Regions from separate parts of the Homo sapiens genome. Here region 1 is linked to region 2. The links are contacts of gene promoters, found by promoter capture Hi-C in human tissues and cell types (Jung and others, 2019). All regions are on one chromosome and are shown on one strand. The core of a region is centred on a gene start or on the middle of the fragment in contact, and the rest is flanking DNA. Distances in the headings are between cores, read along the strand shown.

Evidence for each region. Contacts are between HindIII fragments. The study calls those that stand out against the background at their distance.
Region 1: a contact is called between a fragment that was not itself captured here and the fragment with the promoter of ZNF596 in region 2, in 1 of the 25 tissues and cell types used here (dorsolateral prefrontal cortex).

Annotation. Positions count from the first base shown.
Region 1 is chr8:619,250-623,365 of GRCh38, forward strand. It overlaps a transcript of ERICH1 not described here. Among named protein-coding and RNA genes, the nearest start is that of TDRP, 76 kb to the left of the region's middle. The HindIII fragment of the contact is 4,674 bases long and covers 1-4,116 here.
Region 2 is chr8:231,037-235,298 of GRCh38, forward strand. It overlaps ZNF596 (zinc finger protein 596), which reads left to right and starts at 1,420. Exons shown (of 6, transcript NM_001042416.3): 1 at 1,420-1,658. It also overlaps the pseudogene RPL23AP53. RefSeq lists a silencer at 1,187-1,286 and an enhancer at 1,307-1,626. The HindIII fragment of the contact is 11,154 bases long and covers 1-3,526 here.

The DNA of each region.
Region 1 (4,116 bases), core at 632-3,131, 390 kb after region 2:
ACGTGACCCATCGCGCACAAGGAGGCCCCGGTGAGACCCACCGCGCACGAGGGGGGCCCGGTGAGACCTATCTCACACAAGGGGATTCTGTAGATAATTGTAAAAGACAGTATAACATATTTCTTCTTTCTTCTCAACTTATTTTTAAAATGCTTACATAAAAGAATATGTATATAATTACATTATTTGTATTATAACATATAGAAACGTAATACATTTGAAAATAGCAGCACAAAGAAGCCAGGTGGAACAAAGCTGTACTGGAGAGAAAGCAATGACATCAGATAGTAACCAGTATCCACCGGGGGAAGAAAAGAGAATCAGAAATGGTAAATAAGGAGATTAATATAACAAACTTTATAAACATATACTTGCTCTCCTTTCTTCTCTCAACTTCCTTAAAAGACTTAAGATTATATACAGTAGTAATTATAACAATATATTGTTGGGTTTGTAACATATACAGGGACAATATATTAAACAACAGCACAAAAAAGAAGTCTATGGAATGAAACTATGTTGTATGAAGTCTATGGAATTGAACTCATTCCACAGGAGTATGTTTCTGTATTTCACTGGTATTAGGCTAGTATAAATCTAAAATAAAATTTGATGTTAAGATGTACATTGTAAGCTCCAGAGCAACCACTAAGAAAATAAACAATACAGTAAAAATGTCATTTAAGGAATAAAAAATATTACATTATAAAATAGCCACTTAATATGAAAAAGCAATAAAAGAAAATGGAGGAATAATAAGGACATATACAAAACAAAAAGTGGGCCAGGCGTGGTGGCTCACACCTGTAATCCCAGCACTTTGGGAGGCCAAGGTGGGTGGATCACGAGGTCAGGAGTTCGAAACCAGCCTGATCAACATGGTGAAACCTCGTCTCTACTAAAAATACAAAAATTAGCCAGGCGTGGTGGCGCACACCTGTAATCCCAGCTACTCAGGAGGCTGAGGCAGGAGAATCACTTGAATCCAGGAGGCGGAGGTTGTAGTGAGCCGAGATTGTGCCACTGCACTCCAGCCTGGGCAACAGAGTGAGACTCTGTCTCAAAAAATAAATAAATCAATAAAAAAGAAAACAAAAAGCATAATGTTAGATATAAACCTAATAATCAATAAAAATAATATTTAAATGTGAATCAATTGAACAAGTCAATCAAAAGGCAGAGATCATCAGACTGAATAAAGGGAAACCAGAAACCTGCTTATCAAGTGTGTGTCTCTGTGTGTGTCTGTATAGTATCTGCAATGTACACTGACCTCCTATAGAAAAAGTATTCATATTCTGTAGAAAATCCAGTGCAGCTTTTAAAAATACAAATGAGTTGAAAGTTAAAGAACAGAAAAACATACGTCATGCAAACAGCAACCATGACAGAGCTGGATAGGCTATACTAACATCAGAAAAAACAGACTTTAAAACAGAAAATGTTACTAAAGACAAACACTTTGTAATGATAAATGTTAACATAACAATTATAAACCCATATGCACCTAACAGTGGCACCCCAAAATATATAAAGCAAACTGGTGAAATTGAAGGGAGAAGTAGACAATTTAACAATGGTTTTTACAGACTTCAATACCCCACTTTTAATTATTTATAGAATGAATAGGCAGAAGATCCACACAGAAATAAAAACTTAAATAAACTTAGATTTAACCAGCATCTACAGAACACTTCACCAAAAACAGCAGAATACATATTCTCAAGTACACATAAAACGTTCTCCACGACTGACAATATGGTGCATACACCATAAAATAAACTCGAATACCTTTAAATAGGATTGAAATCATAAAGTATATTGTCTGAGCACAATAGACTTAAATTAAAAATCAGTAATAGGAAGAAACTTGGGAAATTCACAAATATGTGAAAATTAAACAATACACTCCTAAATAACTAATGGATGAAAGAAGAAATTACAAGGGAAATTAGAAAAAAACTTGAGAAGGATGAAAATAAAAGCACATCATGCCAATATTTATAGACTGCAGCTAAAGCAGTGCCCAGAGGAAAAGTTATAGCTATACATGCTTATATTAAAAAAGACACTCTCAAATCAATAACCTTTCTACCTTAAGACACTAGAAAAATTTCTCACAACAAAAGATAAGTGTGTGATGTGATGGATATGTTAATTAGCTTGATATAACCATTTAACAAGGTATACATGTATCAAACATCACACAGTAAATATATGTAATTTTTGTCAACTATATGTTAATAAAAATTTTTTAAATAATTAAAATAATTAAATAATTAAAAAGAGAAAGGAGATAGAGAAGAGCAAACTAAAAACCAGCAGAAGAAAGGAAATAATCAAGATTAGAGCAGAAATAACTGACACAGAGAATAGAAAAACAATAGAGAAATCAACAAGACCAATGGTTAGTTCTTTGAAAAGACTGACAAAACGACAATCCTTTAGAAAGACTACGAAAGAAAGAGAGGGACTAAATTACCAAAGTTAGAAATGGAAGGGAGGACATCTTATAAAATAATGACCTTATAAAAGTAAAAAAGGATTATAAGTGAATAATATCAACAATTATGAGCCAACAAAGTTAAATACAATTCCTAGAAAAACATAAACTACCCAAACCAACTCAAAAGGAAATATATCTAAAACAATTAGAGATTAAATAATGTTAAAACTTCCTTGTGGCTGAGTGTGGTGGCTCATGCCTGTAATCCCAGCACGTTGGGAGGCCAAGGCATGACGATCCCTTGAGGCCAGTAGTTTGAGACCAGCCTGGACAACACAGTGACAACACCTCTACAGAAAATAAAAATGAAAAAAATTAACCAAGCGTGGTGGCATGTGCACCTGTAGTCTTAGCTACTTGGGAGACTGTGGCAGGAGGACTATTTGATCCCAGGAGTTTGAGATTACAGTGGCCTAAGATTGTGCCACTGTACTCCATCCTGGGTGACAGAGCAAGATTCTGTCTCAGAAAAATAAAAATAAATAAATAAATTCCTTGCTATGGTCTGAATGTTTGTATCCACCCCCCATTTATATGTTGAAACTCAATCAGCAAAAGGTGATGTTATTAGGAGGTGGGGCCTTTGGAGAGTGACTAGGTCATGAGGGCCCTGTGAAAATGAATAGGATTAATGCTTTTATAAAAGAGGCCCCCAAGAACTGCCTTCCCTTCTGCTACGTTGAGGATGCAGTGAGAAGACACCATATCTATGAAGCAGAGAACGAAGCTTTTCTAGATACTAAATCTGGTGGTGACGTGATCTTGGACTGTCCAGCCTCCAGAACTGTGACCAATAAATTCTGCTGTTTATAAAGCACCCAGTCTGAGGTATTTTGATATCACAGTCCAAACAGACTACCCTTGAAAACCCAAGCCAGACAGCTTCACTAGCAAATTCTATCAGACATTTAAAAAGGCAGGGCACAGTGGCTCACACCTGTAATCCCAGAACTTTGGGAGGCTGAGGTGGGAGGATCACTTGAGCCCAGGAGTTTCAGACCAGCCTTGGCAACATAGTGAGACCGTGTCTCTATAAAAAAATTTTTTTAAAAAATAGCCAGGTGTAGTGGTGCACACCTGTGGTCCCAGCAGCTCAGGATGCTGAGGTGGAAGGATTGCTTGAGCCCAGGAATTCAAGGCTGCAGTGAGCCATGATTGTACCACTGTACTCCAACCTGGGCAACAGAGGAGATCCGCTCTCAATAAATAAATAAATAAATAAATAAATAAAACATCAATACTAATCAATACCAATACTGTCAATACCAATCCTACCAAAAAAACAGAAGAGGGTTTAACACTTCCCAACTCATTTTATAGAACAGTATGACGAGAGATAAAACAGGCAAAGATATCAAAAGAAAACTACAGACTAATATTCCTTATGAATATAGACACAAACACTAGCAAACAACTTAAAACAATGCATAAATGGAATTACACACCATGAGTAAATGGAATTTATCCTAGGAATTCAAGGGTGGTTTGGCAACAATCAATGTAATAGACACCATATGAATAAAGTACAAAAACCATGTGGCTTCCCAATAGACGCAGGAAAGAAATTTGAGGAAACTCAACACCCTTTCATAATAAAAGGATGCTCAACA
Region 2 (4,262 bases), core at 170-2,669:
AAAGGTCTTTCCCATGTGAAATCCAAAAACCTGTTCTTGGGGTCTAGGACAAGACCCATTTTATAATGACAAAACTATACAAATTCTAGAGGGAAACATAGAAAGAAAGCTATGTGACCTTGCGTTTGGCCATGAGTTTTAACACGACACTATCAGAGGCATTTGAACCCCTCCTCTATATGAACTCCAGGGTGGTTTATGTTCCATTGGCTAAGAGAAAGTTTTCTTCAAAAATGTGACATGATTTGAGGTCAAACATTAATATCAAGTAAACTCAAAAGATTGAGAAGCTAGCATTAGTTCTGGGAAAACCAGAAGTGTGCCTTTTTTGGAAATAATCATTGGTAGCACAAACTTAAGAATCTCCAAAGGAAATAAAAATGAGTTATTAACTTACAGTTTTCACCAATTAAGATATAAATGAAGCTAACGAAATCCGGAAATACAATTTCACTGTTTTTAATGTTCATTAAAAAAAAATCCTTATCAAATAGCCCCAGTAAGTCACCAATTAAGTCTTTACTACTTAAAAGCAAAATCCACCTATGTCCTGAACAGTATCCACTTTACGAGCCTCATTATATGTACGAGATAAAATTCAGAAATAAATAAATATACATGTATACGTATACAAATATATTTCAAATTAAAAAATACTTTTAGATAGTGGTATGTATTACATTTAGAAATTAATAACGAAGTAAATTATGGGATGTCATCCACGCCTGTCCCAAAGGTACCGAATTTATAAATCATCTCAGGTGCGGAGCAGGACAGGTTGAAAATAGGAATGACATGAACCCGCGCGGAACAGCTGCCGGCGCGGTGTCCAGGGCGGCACCCCGCCCGGTCCCGGCCCCTCCAGCCCTGGGCCCGACCCCTACTACGCCTCTGCCTCGACGCGAACGCGGAGCCCGAGCGCGCGTCACGCCGTGTGGGGCCGAAGAGGCTGCTACCCAGAGGCGGAGTGCGGGCTCGCGAGGGTCCCCACCCGACTCTCGCTCCCGCCAGCACCTACGGACTCGCGTCCCCGCCGCGCGCCGACTCGGGAGCAGCACCGCCCCCGGCACAGGAGCCTCACGCGCCTCTTACCTAACAGGAAGTTGGGTGGAAGCAGCGCGGACCCACGGCACACCGAACGCACTCCAACAGAACCCGACGCAGACACGCGCTTTCAACCGGCGGAGACACTGGCAGGGCCAGAAACGCGCGCAGCGGGGGCGGGAGGTCGGTAAGCTCCCCGCCCCTGCCCGAGACCCCGCCCCGGCCCGGCCCCGCCTTTTTCTCTGCCTCCCCTCCCTGCACGTACGGGCCCCGCCCCTCGCGCGACGTTTTTTGTTGACCCGGAAACGGATTCTCCGGAGCCGAGGTCCGCTCGGGTGAGTGCCCTCCGCTTTTTGTGGCCAAACCCAGCCACGCAGTTCCCTTCCTGCGGCGTCCTCCACACCCGGGGTCTGCTGGTCTCCGCGGATGTCACAGGCTCGGCAACCGCCCTCCTGTCGGCGGGGAGTCCCGCGACGCCCGGAAATGCTCCGAAGCCTGTCGCCCAGCTGCCAGATCTGCGTCTGTGTCCGGTTCCGTCACTGAGGTCGCCCCTGTCCGGCCCTTCCACCCTAGTTCTCTTCACCGTCCGCCCATCCTATCGCGCGCGGCCTCAGGTCCCGATTCGGCATGTGGCTTGTCTTCCATCGTCCCCACCCTCGCCCCTCTTGGCCCCTCAGGGCAGCCCTGGGATTCGGCAGACGCCAGTCCTCCCTGAGATGCTTCCCCATCCTTCCCTCCGCCAGGCCCTACGTCTCCGCAAACCCCACGCTTCGGGGTGGCCGCCTCAGACAGGACCCTGAGTCCGAGACTGGGGTAGGGGACCTGCCCGATCCTGTAACAACCCTCGTGCTTCTGCACAATCGCCTCCCACTAGCGGTGACTGTTGGGTGTTTACCTTCCCGGTGTCCCACTGAGAAGCGGGCTCTTCCTTGGCAGGGGCTTCTTCATTGCCTCGCTGTGGATGTCGAGGTGGGGCAGGAGAGTGAGGAGAAAACAGAGGAGGGAGGTAGAGCCAACGAGCGAGAAAAGGGGAGGGAAGTTTAGATGGGAAGTGGATGGGTCTGAGGAATTTGAACAAACACCGACAATGAAGGAGAGTGACCTGAGCAAGTAGTAGTGGGGTAAATGGAAATAGACAAAATGGGAATCAGCAGAGATATGGAGGACAGAATACAATGAGGAGGCCTTGACCGTCAGTAGCAGAGAGGGCAGCAGAAGCCTAATTCCCAAATTCTTTAGATGGTTTTCTGATTTCCAAATTAGTTTCCCTTTTAAATTTATTGTGTCAGGTTCAGCTTATGAGGCCTCAATACTTTTCAGTCTTAATTGTATATTGAAAATACTTTTTGTTTACTAAATGCTTTTTACATTAATTCAGTGTGCACTTCGTAAGGATAATGATGATTTGAGTTAGTTTAGTATTCAACAGCTTCCTCTATTCCTTTATATGATCTCTGTATTTAATGGCTGTGGCATAAAGTTTCCAACTAAGTTTAAGTATCAAGTTTTCTTTGTGCTGTTTTCTGCAAATATTGAAGGATGACCTGGATTGTCCTAGAACTTTGTTCCAACAGATTACATGTGTTCATAATGAATAGACTGCTCAAAGATATTTCCAAAGCTCACCTTTTATGTTTTTCAGTTCCAATAATTACATCTTTTTAAGGTTTATATTTTTTGATGACTTAATGTGATGTTCTGGAGAAGACAAATGCTTTTAATCAATATGATTAAAACCGTGAAAGACAAATCGCTGTTACTTAAGAGTGTGACATATGATCTGAAATCTTTAGGGGGCAGGGATGTTAAGGGAAAACTGCCACTATCGTATTAAGGTCATGCCATTCCTGTGAAGCTGGTGCTTGTTACTCTCTACTGGCTTCTGTTCACCTTTCCACCGGCCCCAAGACACACACATAGTGACACAAGGCAGTGGACAGGGAAAGAGCAAGACTTTATAAAGTAAGCACACAACAAAGGTATCTTTCTAATGAGGAGGAGGTGTTGGTTCTGGGAAGGAAGCTTGGGATTTGGGTATTCAGGATCCAGAAGTGAGAGAGCCTGGGAAGTTCAGGAACCAGAGAAAGAAAAAGCCTTGCCCATTCTCACCCATGACACTGTGCTCAGCAGGTACTAGCAGACTTCAGGCTCTGTGACTAAAAGGGGTCAGACCAGTTGATATACCCACAGCTGCCATGTAAGGATGTGTGTGGACTTCACTAGGGAAGAACGGTGTTATGAAAGAAGGGGCAGAAAAACTCACCTGTTGGTCTGCATGTAGAGGTTTATTGTCCTGAATTCCTGGAGGTTCAGTGAAAAGCAGAAGATTGTCTTTTACACATGTTGAGTTATGCCCCCATATATGTGGTTGTGGTAAAGAAAGAGGGTGTGTTGATGAGAGGTCCTGAAATGCATTTTCCTAATACTCAGCAGGGGCTTCTCAAGAAGGATCTTCCCTAAGAAAGAAGCTCAGAGAACAAAAATGGAAAAGGATTAGATATGGCACTTTCACTGGAAAAAGTCATGTTATTCATTGATTGTTTTGTCATCTCCCGCCTTAAGTGTTGTTTTTAGGATGTGGTAATCTCTGACCCTGCCTAACACATTTCCCAACTCACCCATAGCCTTCCCTTAACGTCCTCCCATCTTCACGCTATCACACTGTGACCCAGTGAATTCGAACTTGTGAAGTTCCATTCGGGGGATCATATGGGAAGGGCTTCACACCCAGACATAGATTATAGATGGGAAGTGGGCCACATGGTGTCAGTGAGGCAAGTATGGGTCGTTTAGGGACAATGCACTGTCAGATCTTTGTTGACCATGATTAGAGAAACTGTGCATATTAGTAGTGAATTAATGTCAGGAATATCTGACAAATCCTGGAAAAGAAGATTGATGAGAGGAAATGTGTTCTGCCCAACTGTATAATGCATTTGAAGCTTAAAACAATGAATCAGTATTGATCTGGCCACAAAATATTAATGATTTGAATTAAAAAGAAAAGTTTAGAAAATGATAGCTTTGACAAATTAAGGTAGCATTTCATCCACACGATGGAGTGTGTTTTATTCAGTAATTGATTTAAAAATGGAATCAACCTAAGTGTCTAACAGGAGGGAGTTTTATAAATTGTTCACAGAACATCTGTTCCAAGGAGACCTTGATGTTCATAGATTTGTAAAGAATGCTGCTTACTAGCACACTGACTGCTCTGC